Regions from separate parts of the Homo sapiens genome. Here region 2 is linked to region 1. The links are contacts of gene promoters, found by promoter capture Hi-C in blood cells and fetal thymus (Javierre and others, 2016). All regions are on one chromosome and are shown on one strand. The core of a region is centred on a gene start or on the middle of the fragment in contact, and the rest is flanking DNA. Distances in the headings are between cores, read along the strand shown.

Evidence for each region. Contacts are between HindIII fragments. The CHiCAGO score rates a contact against its expected background, and 5 or more counts as called.
Region 2: a contact is called between a fragment that was not itself captured here and the fragment with the promoter of ACOT12 in region 1, in 2 of 17 cell types (endothelial precursors and M0 macrophages). The highest score is 5.4, in endothelial precursors.

The regions. Positions count from the first base shown.
Region 1 is chr5:81,390,797-81,395,419 of GRCh38, forward strand. ACOT12 (acyl-CoA thioesterase 12) reads right to left here and starts at 3,338. Exons shown (of 15, transcript NM_130767.3): 1 at 3,192-3,338. The coding sequence starts at 3,318. The HindIII fragment of the contact is 6,480 bases long and covers 53-4,623 here.
Region 2 is chr5:81,895,525-81,900,479 of GRCh38, forward strand. LOC124901018 (a long non-coding RNA gene) reads left to right here. Exons shown (of 6, transcript XR_007058843.1): 6 at 4,904-4,955. Among named protein-coding and RNA genes, the nearest start is that of ATG10, 74 kb to the right of the region's middle. The HindIII fragment of the contact is 2,914 bases long and covers 1-2,825 here.

The sequences.
Region 1 (4,623 bases), core at 2,088-4,587:
TTTTTAATTATATTATTGAGCACAGTTATACTAGCTGCTTTAAAATCCTTGAAGCTTAATTCCAGCATCAGGGTTGTCTAGGGATGAATCTCCATTGATCATCTTTTCTCTTAAGAATAAATCATGTTTCCCTCTGTATTTCAAGTAATTTTGGATAATATCCTAGCCATTGTGAGTGATCCATTGTAGAAACTGTGTTTCTCTGAAAAGTGTTGGTTTTGTTTTTGGTTTTGTTTTTTAAAGCAAGCAGTTAACCTGACCAAACCAAAACTATAATCTGTCTACCTAGAGATGGGCACAACTATTTTCAGTTCTTTTGGCCTCAACCAGGAGGTTTGGAGTCTGTCCTATGTATACATGATTCAAGATTTGCCAGATATCTGGGAAAAGATTATAGATAGATTTTAGGGCTCTGTCTCTCTGGCTCTTTCCTTTCTGGAACTTTCCCTTTTGTATTTCATTCAGTAGCTGTGCTTTTCCCAAACCCTGTCTTTGGGCTCTTCAAACCAGCAAGCCTGTGGGTTTTCCATCAGAACTATAGCTGGGAGCAGACTGGCATTTTCTTTCAGGCTTCAAGTCATTTATAAAACAAACACAGAAAAAGCCAACACCACTTTGTTCTTTCATGTGTTAACTTTCAAGTGTTATAAGCCTACTTTTGTTCACTTTTCACCTGCCTTAAGTCTCTTTTATTTAGTGTTTTGCCCAGAGTTTATAATTATTATCTGTGGGAGATTTTTTAGTAGGAAGCACTTGAACATCTTAGAAAAATCCTTAAAGCCCTTGGTGAAGAAAAGAAAGGGAAAAATGAACAAAACATATGACATGATCAATCAGATTAGCATCTTCAAAGATTACTTTAGAAGCAGTGTGGAGAGGAGACCAGAACGAATGGAGATGAGTTTGGAAATCACTGCTGAAGTCTGCATGAAACATGATGATAGCTTGGAGTAGATGGTCGCAATGGGGGTGCAGCAAAGTGCTTGGATTTCAGAGACTCCTTTAGGGGGTAACACTGATAGGACTTGCTCCATGCATAGAGTATGTGAAGTGAGAAGTAAGGTGGAGAGAGAAATATCAAGGATGACTCCTAGACTTTTGACTTGCTCAACTAGATGAGTTGGGTGCCACTCCAGAGATAGTAAACCCTGGAAAAGATTCACAAATAAAAAACCGTGTGTGTGAGATGTTCCAAAATAATACATGGACGTGTGAGATAGAGGATTACTCAGATAGCTTCAAGACTTTAGACTTAAGGGACTGGAAAAATAATGGGGCCACTGACAGAAGTAAGGATAGTGAGAATATTTCATCTTTCTTTAAATATTGAGAAGACATTTTGGAATCCAGCAGTGCCTAGGGGTCATAGAAATGCCTTGGGGGCCATGACTGGGATTGCAGTAATGTGGCTAAAGAGATAATGCTGGCCTATAAAAAACTCTGAGAAAATCCCAGAGAAATCAGTTTTATATTACTACACAGATTCAGTTACACCTTGGCTAAATAATGTCCCCTGCTTATGTGGTGCCTCAGGTCACCATAAAGTGTTTAACACAGGCGTTATTCATGTTGCCCAAACCAACTTTATCATACAGGTTTTCTTAATATTAGTAACATTATCAGTTATTAATATTATACTACTAATAGTAATGTAACTATTAAGGTATAGAGTAATTGATTGTCAATTGGATCTTTCCATGGTTTCCAAAGATGTCAGGTCATAGAAATGATGACAATTGCAGGTGGGCCATTGTTTCTCCATCACAAGACAGAGGCACTAAGCAAGGTAACTAAAAGTCACTTCAGTGGTCTCATAATGTATTCAGTTGCCTTGGAAACAGGCATCATTATTATTAGCAACCTCAGTGGTTTATGTATTATTCTTTTTTCCTATGTGTGGATTAATTTTGTATTCATGTTTCCATTGTTAATATAACCAATCTCAAATCCTGTTAAAAAAAAAAAAGGCTTAAACGAATCATTGATTTCTCACAATTGTGGAGGCAGGGAAGTTCCAAATCGAGGTGCTTGCCCATTGTAGGTCCTAGTGAGGGCTCTCTTCCTGGCCTGTGGATGGCTGTCTTCCTGCTGTGGCCTCACATGGCAGAGAGAAGCTCTCCAGTGTCTCTTCTTATAAGGACATTAATTGTATGGGACCAGGATTCCACTCTTATGACCTCATTAGCCTTAATTCTTCACTCCAAATAGAGTCACACCAGGGGTTAGGACTTCAGTGTATAAATTTCGGTGGGTGGTGTGGGGGATATAATTCAGTCCTTAATAAATGTTTTTGCCATTTTTACTGTCATTCTGTCACAAGAACACAGTGGAGTTTTCCAGAGACTACATAAGGGTGTGGTAGCAGCAGGGTGAATGCAGAAGCAGGTATGAGTAGTCAGCAATCCTCCACTAGCCAGACCTTAGAGAGACTCGCCAGGATGTAACCTTTATCACCACTCCTCTCGCTACACTTTTGTTCTTGTGGAAAATAGTTATTTCTTAATTAAAAATGTTATGCTAACAATGTAGTCCATTTCTTTTTTAAAAATAATTAAAAATTTTAAATTTCCATTACGGTAAATGTGATATAAATAGCCTACATAAACAAAAGCTGCCTGGGTGCGGTGGCTCATGCCTGTAATCCCAACACTTTGGGAGGCTGGGGCCTCCCAACACTTCAGGATCACTTGAGTCCAGGCGTTTGAGACCAGCCTGGGCAACATAGTGAGACCCCATCTCTACAAAAGCAAAACAAAACAAAACTCCCAAAGTCAGCTGGGCCTGGTGGCGTGCGTCTGTGGTCCTAGTTACTCTGGAGGCTGAGGTGGGAGGATCGCTTTAGCTCAGGAGGTCGAGGCTGCAGCGACCTCTGATGGCGCCACCGCTCTCCAGCCCGGGAGAGAGCTCAACAACAACAACAACAAACAAACAAACAAAAAACCCCGCAGAAGCTCTCTGGGCTCCTCACTTGTTTAATGGAATGAAGGAGTCCCGAGAGCCACACATTTGGGAACCACCGGTCTCGGCCATGCCCAGCGCGGGCGCACTGTTGCAACACCCCTATCCCTGGCTGCGCAGGGTTCAGCTCTCCGCAAGTACCTTCCTCGCCTTCCTACCCCCCCCAGCCCCCAGCCGCCGCCGCTCCCGCAGCCCCGGTCCCGCGCCTCCCCGCAGCCCCGGCGCCCGCCTACCCGCCAGGCAGGCGGTGGTGTCGATCCACTTGAGCAGCTGCCCCGCGCTCAGCTCGCCGCGCGCAGTGGCGTGCGCCGGCTGGATGGCTTGGCTCATGACCACCTCGCCGGGCGCCGGCCGCTCCATGGCCAGGGCGAGAGCGCTACGCCTGCGGCCCCCGACACCCCACCATGCCCGCTCCGCCCGCCCCGCCCTCCCCGCCCAGCTCCAGAGGGCACTGGCGCCGCCCGCCCGGGCCGCGAACCCCTGGCCGCCAGGTGGTGGGAGCTGCGAGTGAGGGGGCCCGCACTGTCATCCCAGGACTATCGCGAGTGGGGGAAAACCAGCGCTCTCGGGTCTCAGGAGAAGTCTGGGAAGTGCGCGGGGAGGGGGCTCCCGGGTAGACAGGTCTGGAAGGCGGCTCCCCGAGAGCCGGAGCGCGAGGAACAGCTTTTGAGATAAAAAAGCTGTTACACTTTCTAGAGCTGCTATCAGTGACTGTACAAAGCAGTCCTCATTAGGGAAACAGTGTCTCCAGAAAACCTCCAGCATCTAATGGATTGGTGGATGTCTGACTGTCAGGGGAGGCTGCTCCAGGGAGCACATTTACGATGGAGAACTGGAAACCCGGAGAAGTGGAGCAAGCAGCTGAGGTGATAGGAGCCGATAAGCGACCCGATCACCTGGCTGGAACCCAGGGCTCCTGACTGTCCGGAATAGCACGAAGAAGCCTAGCCGACTCTCACGAATTGGTGGTGCCTTTTCATCCTTATATTTTTGGCTTGCCAAGCCTCAGCATGGCGACATCAGAATGGAGATTCTGGTATTTTTCTTTCCTTTTTAAAAGATTTTTTTTAAAATGAAAGTGAAGAAATAAGGAAATGTTGACTTGATAGCTTTTAGGAGCCTCTGTGTATAGGTTTCAGGACAATCCAATCATAAATAGGAATTGCATGTTTTCACTGAGGCAAGCATGAAGTCTGACTTATATAAAAGGCATTAAAATAACTTTTAAAAGCAAACAAAAACTTGTGCATCCAAGATGGTCCCATTATGTAGCTATACACTTATTTCAATGATAACGTTATTACATCGCTTTTGGCACTCCTCCTTGGAAAATGCCTTTTTAATGACTTCTGTATTGAGAAATCATAATTTAGGAATTGATAGATTATCATATATTCACTCCATCTACCAATAACTCTGTGAGAGTCATTTATTGACCTTGGACTTGGCCATGTGGCTTGCTTAAGAATGGAATGTGGAGAGATAGCAGTGTACCACCAGTCTTGCCTTTAGAAGCACCGTGTTTCTGTTCTCAGGAACATCTGACCTCTGCCATGAGGTCAAGTAGCTGCCTATTAGCATCTGGGTACCAGACTGAATTCACGTATTGCAGAGGCATCTCAGCCAGCCGGAGGACTCACAGCCTGAAGCAGAGCAACCCAGCAG
Region 2 (4,955 bases), core at 119-2,618, 500 kb after region 1:
TAGGTCTCTAGTAATATCACTGGGCTTCAGTTTGTTCAAGTTCCTCAATATGAATCTTGTGAATGACTTTGCAGGTTACCTTATTTTTAAAGTACAGAACCAAGATATTTATCTACAAAAGCATTTAACACCTCTAGGCAATTAGATTTCTTCAACATGTCTCTCTTCATCACTAGGTTTCTAATGAGAGTGTCAAACAACTCTAGACCCTTTCCAATACTTTCAGATGACCTGTTATAGTCCTTTAGATTAAATATGAGGCACTGATACATGTTATCTTGGCTCTACCAAGTGTCTTTGGCCAGTGTTTCTCAAATTGAATTCTAGGACTTAGGAAGGCCAACAGAGAGTTCTAAGGGCATTACAGAAATGAGAGAAGCAGAGACAAAGACTGCAACAAAAGGAACTGTTCCCCTCTCCCCTGGACCCTTCTGTTTGAATTTCTTGCTTTTATTCAGAAATAGCTCATTTATCTGAAGGTCCCTTATGCGGTGAAGTCAATCAACTGGTATATTTGTAGCACCCAGAAATTGAGCAAAAAAGGCCTCCAAACTCCAAAACTTTTCAAAATGTCATGCATGGTATTTGGACCTTTTACTCTTTTGTATAACAGCTTTTACTGAATTATAATTCACATACCTAAAATTCAATCTTTTTTTTTTTTTTAATTGAGATAGAGTCTTGCTCTGTCACCGAGGCTGTAGTGCAGTGGCGTGATCTTGGCTCACGGCAACCACTGCCTCCTGGGTTCAAGTGATTCTCCTGTCTCAGTCTTCTGAGCAGCTGGGACTACAGGCACATGCCACCACGCCTGGCTAATTTTTTTTTTTTTTTTTTGTATTTTTAGTAAGGATGGGGTTTCACCATGTTGGCCAGACTGGTCTCGAACTCCTGACCTCAGGTGATCCGCCTGCCTCAGCCTCCCAAAGTGCTGGATTACAGAAGTGAGCCACCATACCCAGCCTAAAATTCAATCGTTTAAAGTGTACAATTCAGTGGTTTTATACACACACACACACACACACACGGTAGTGCAAACATCTCGACCATGTAATTCCAGAACATTTTTATCACCCCTCAAAAAACTCAAACTCCTTAGCAGTCACTCCCTAGTCTCCTCTTCCTCCAACCCTAGGCAACCACGCATCTCCTTTCTGTCTCCATGGATTTTCCTATTCTGGAAATTTCATATAAATAGAACTGTGCAATATGTGGCCTTTTGTGATCGGCTTTCTTTCAGTTAGCATAATATTCTCAAGTTTCATCAATGTTGTATGTTTACATCTGTGAAGTACTGTATGATATGTCAGTACTTCATTCCTTTTTTGAAATTGTGGTAAAATAGACATAACAAATTTATCATAAGTATACCATTCAGTGTCATTAAGTACATTTACAACATTGCACATTTACAACATTGCACAATCAGTATCATTATCTAGTTCCAGAACTTTTTCATCATCTCAAACAGACACTCTATACCTATTAAGCTGTCACTCCCTATTTCCCAATCTTCCCAGGCCCCTGGAAACCACTAATATACTTTCTGTCTCTATAGATTTGCCTTTTCTGGACATTTCATGTAACTGAAATGATATAATATGTGGCCTTGTGTCTCTGGCTTATTTCACTCGGTATGTTTTCAAGACTCACTCGTGTAGCACATATCAGTATTTCTTTTTATAGCTGAATAATATTCCATTGTTTGGATATATAACATTTTGTTTGTCCATTCATCTGTTGATGGACATTTGGGTTGTTTTTACCTTTCAGCTATTGTAAACAGAACTGCTATGAACATTGTAAATAAGTTTCTATTTAAACATCTGTTTTCCACTCTGTTAGGTTTATACAGTGATGCCCCATGCCACATAACCACATAATGTTTCAGTTAATGGTGATAGGCCTGCATATACCATGTTGGTCCCCTAGGATTATGTTAAAATAATAGTATACTTTTACTATACCTTTCCTATGTTTAGATAATTTAGATACACAAATACTCAACATTGTGTTACAATTGTACAGTATTCAGTACAGGTTATACCATATAGCCTAGGTGTGTAGTAACCTGTACCATCTAGCTTTGTGTTAGTACACTGTATGATCTTTGCACAATGATGAAATCTTCTAACAAAGCATTTCTCAGAACTTTTCCCCTTGGTTAAATGATGTTCTGGATACTAGACCCTTATCAAGTATATAAAAATAAAACCTGTGTTTGATTAAGCCACTCCAACTGAGTTTGTTATATGCAGCCATGAAATCCTAAATGAAACTCACCAGCTTTTCTGAGGATCTGATGGGAAAACACATGTAAAGCCTGACATATAATTCAATTAGTGTTGTTTTTATTTTTACCACATTTGAATTCACTTAAAGAAATGAGCCCTACAGCACTCACTAGGTCTTAAAGATATTATTTAGTAAGTGCTTATGAATTCCTATTATGTGCAAGACACTATGTGGACATGATACAGGGTCAACGGCATAGTATGTGGCCTGTGCAATCACAAAGGACCCTGTGCCTGTTTTAATTCTCTGCTGTCGTCATCTTGAAATTCTTAATAAGTTTTCAACAAGAGGCTGCACATTTTCATTTTGCATTAGGCCCTGCACATTATGTAGCCAATTCTGTTATGATGAATAGGAAATTCTTTTTGTTCAGAATAATAACTGATGTTTCTAAAAATTACCATGTATTATTCAGAAAACATTAAATTCTGTTAAATAAACTGTTTAAGAAGACTGAGAAATATAGAGTACATTTTAGAAACATCTTACCGAACATGATGTAAATAAAAAAGTTTTGACATTTACAGGTAAGCTTTAGTTATCTGAAAAAATCACTTATTTAGAACAGTCAAGTGTCTGATAAATAAAATGTCAATATATTTTTCAATAACTAGAAAGAGAGAAACTGCAGGCTTTGTTATGGTAGCAGTTCTTAGGGTTTGGAGATTTGTATTGCTAAGGTTTTGGGGATTACGAAGTAAAACTTTTGAAGTAGATTTTTCCCAGTTTAGTATTGGTATAACATACAGGAAGGAACTAGTTGTGACACCCTCAATAAGTTACTTAACCTCTCCTAATCTTAGTTCCCCTTTCTGTAAAATGAGGATGACATGTAGCTGACAAGTCTATGTGGAAGATTAGACTTTTAGCACTGTGTCATATGAGGTACTCAATAAATGTCCCTTTCTTGGTGAAAATGTAAATTAGTATAACCATTGGAAAACTGTATGGCGGTTCTTCAAAAAAACTAAAAATAGAATTACCATATGATCCAGCAATCCAACTTCGGGGTATTTACCAAAAATATTTGAAATTTGTTTGTCAAAGAGAAATCGGCACTTTCATGTTCATTGCAGCACTATTCACAATGGCCAAGTTACAGAATCAACCTAAGTGTCCATGAACGAACAGATGAATGGATAAAGAAAATGCATATATACACTATGGAATACTACGTAGCCTTAAAAAGGAAGGAAATATGGTCATTTGTGACAACATGGGTGGAATTAGAGAATATTATGCTAAATGAAATAAGCCAAACACAGAAAGACAAATGCTGCATGTTCTCACTTACTTGTGGAATCAACAACAATTGAATTCATAGAAGCAGAGTAGAATGGTGGTTACAGAAGCTGGGGATGTTGGGAGAATGGGGAGATGATGGTCAAAGGATACCAAGTCTCAGGTAGGAGAAATAAACCGAATAATGGTTTTATTTTTTTGAGATCTATTTCACAGCATGGTGAATATAGTAAATAATAGTGTGTCATACATTTCAAAATTGCTAACAGAGCAAATTTCAAATGTTCCCACCCCAAAACATGGTAAGTATTTAAAGTGATGAATATGTTTATTAGTTTAATTATTTCACATTAATTCACAAATCATAACATCACTTTGTACCCCATAAATACATACAATTATGAATCGTCAATTTACATTACATTTTATAAAGAAGTTTTAAAAATTAAATAAATAAATGTCCCTTTCCCCAATCCCTTTTCAAATATCTTTTAAGCACCTACTGTGTGCTATGATTCATTCTAAGCACTGTGGACACAGCTGAGTAAAAATCCTCATTATCAAGGAGATCATATTCTAGTAAAGAAAGGTGATCGGTAGCCTGAGAGTTAATTATGATCATTTTCGGCGGCAATATGCGTTCATGGAGATTAAATGGACGGGGGCTGCTTTAGTTAAATCGGTGGTCAAGGAGCAGCTGTCTGGGTAGGTGGCAAGTACATTGAGATCTGAACAATGAAATTGAGGCAGTTAGTGGGGATTAATGAAGTGCTACAGCGAATTCTAAAAAGATCTAAGAGATTTGTTTTCACTTTAATCGCTGTTATCATGGGCCTAATTACAGTCACTGCAATGGCCACCACTGCCGGAATGGCATTACACCAATCCATTCAAACGGCTCATTTTGTTAATGATTGGCAAGCCAATTCCACCCAAATGTGGAATTCTCAACAAGGCATCGATCAAAAATTGGCAAATCAAATTAATGATTTAAGACAGTCTGTTATTTGGCTTGGAGATCGGGTAGTGAGTCTCGAGCATCGCATGCAAATGCAGTGCGATTGGAATACTTCAGATTTCTGCATCACCCCGTATTTCTATAATGAGAATGATCATTCATGGGAAATGGTCAAAAGACACCTTCTGGGTAGGGAAGATAATTTATCACTGGACGTAACTAAATTAAAGAAACAAATTTTTGAAGCCTCTCAAGCTCACTTATCCATTGTGCCTGGAGCTGAGGCGTTAGATCAGGTGGCAGAAAATCTTTATGGATTAAACCCCACGACTTGGATTAAGTCTATTGGGGGCTCCACCGTAGTAAATTTTAGAATTATATTTCTCTGTTTAATCGGCTTGCTTTTAGTGTGCCGGACCAGTCAAAGAATCCTGCGTCAAAATCAAGAGAATGAACAAGC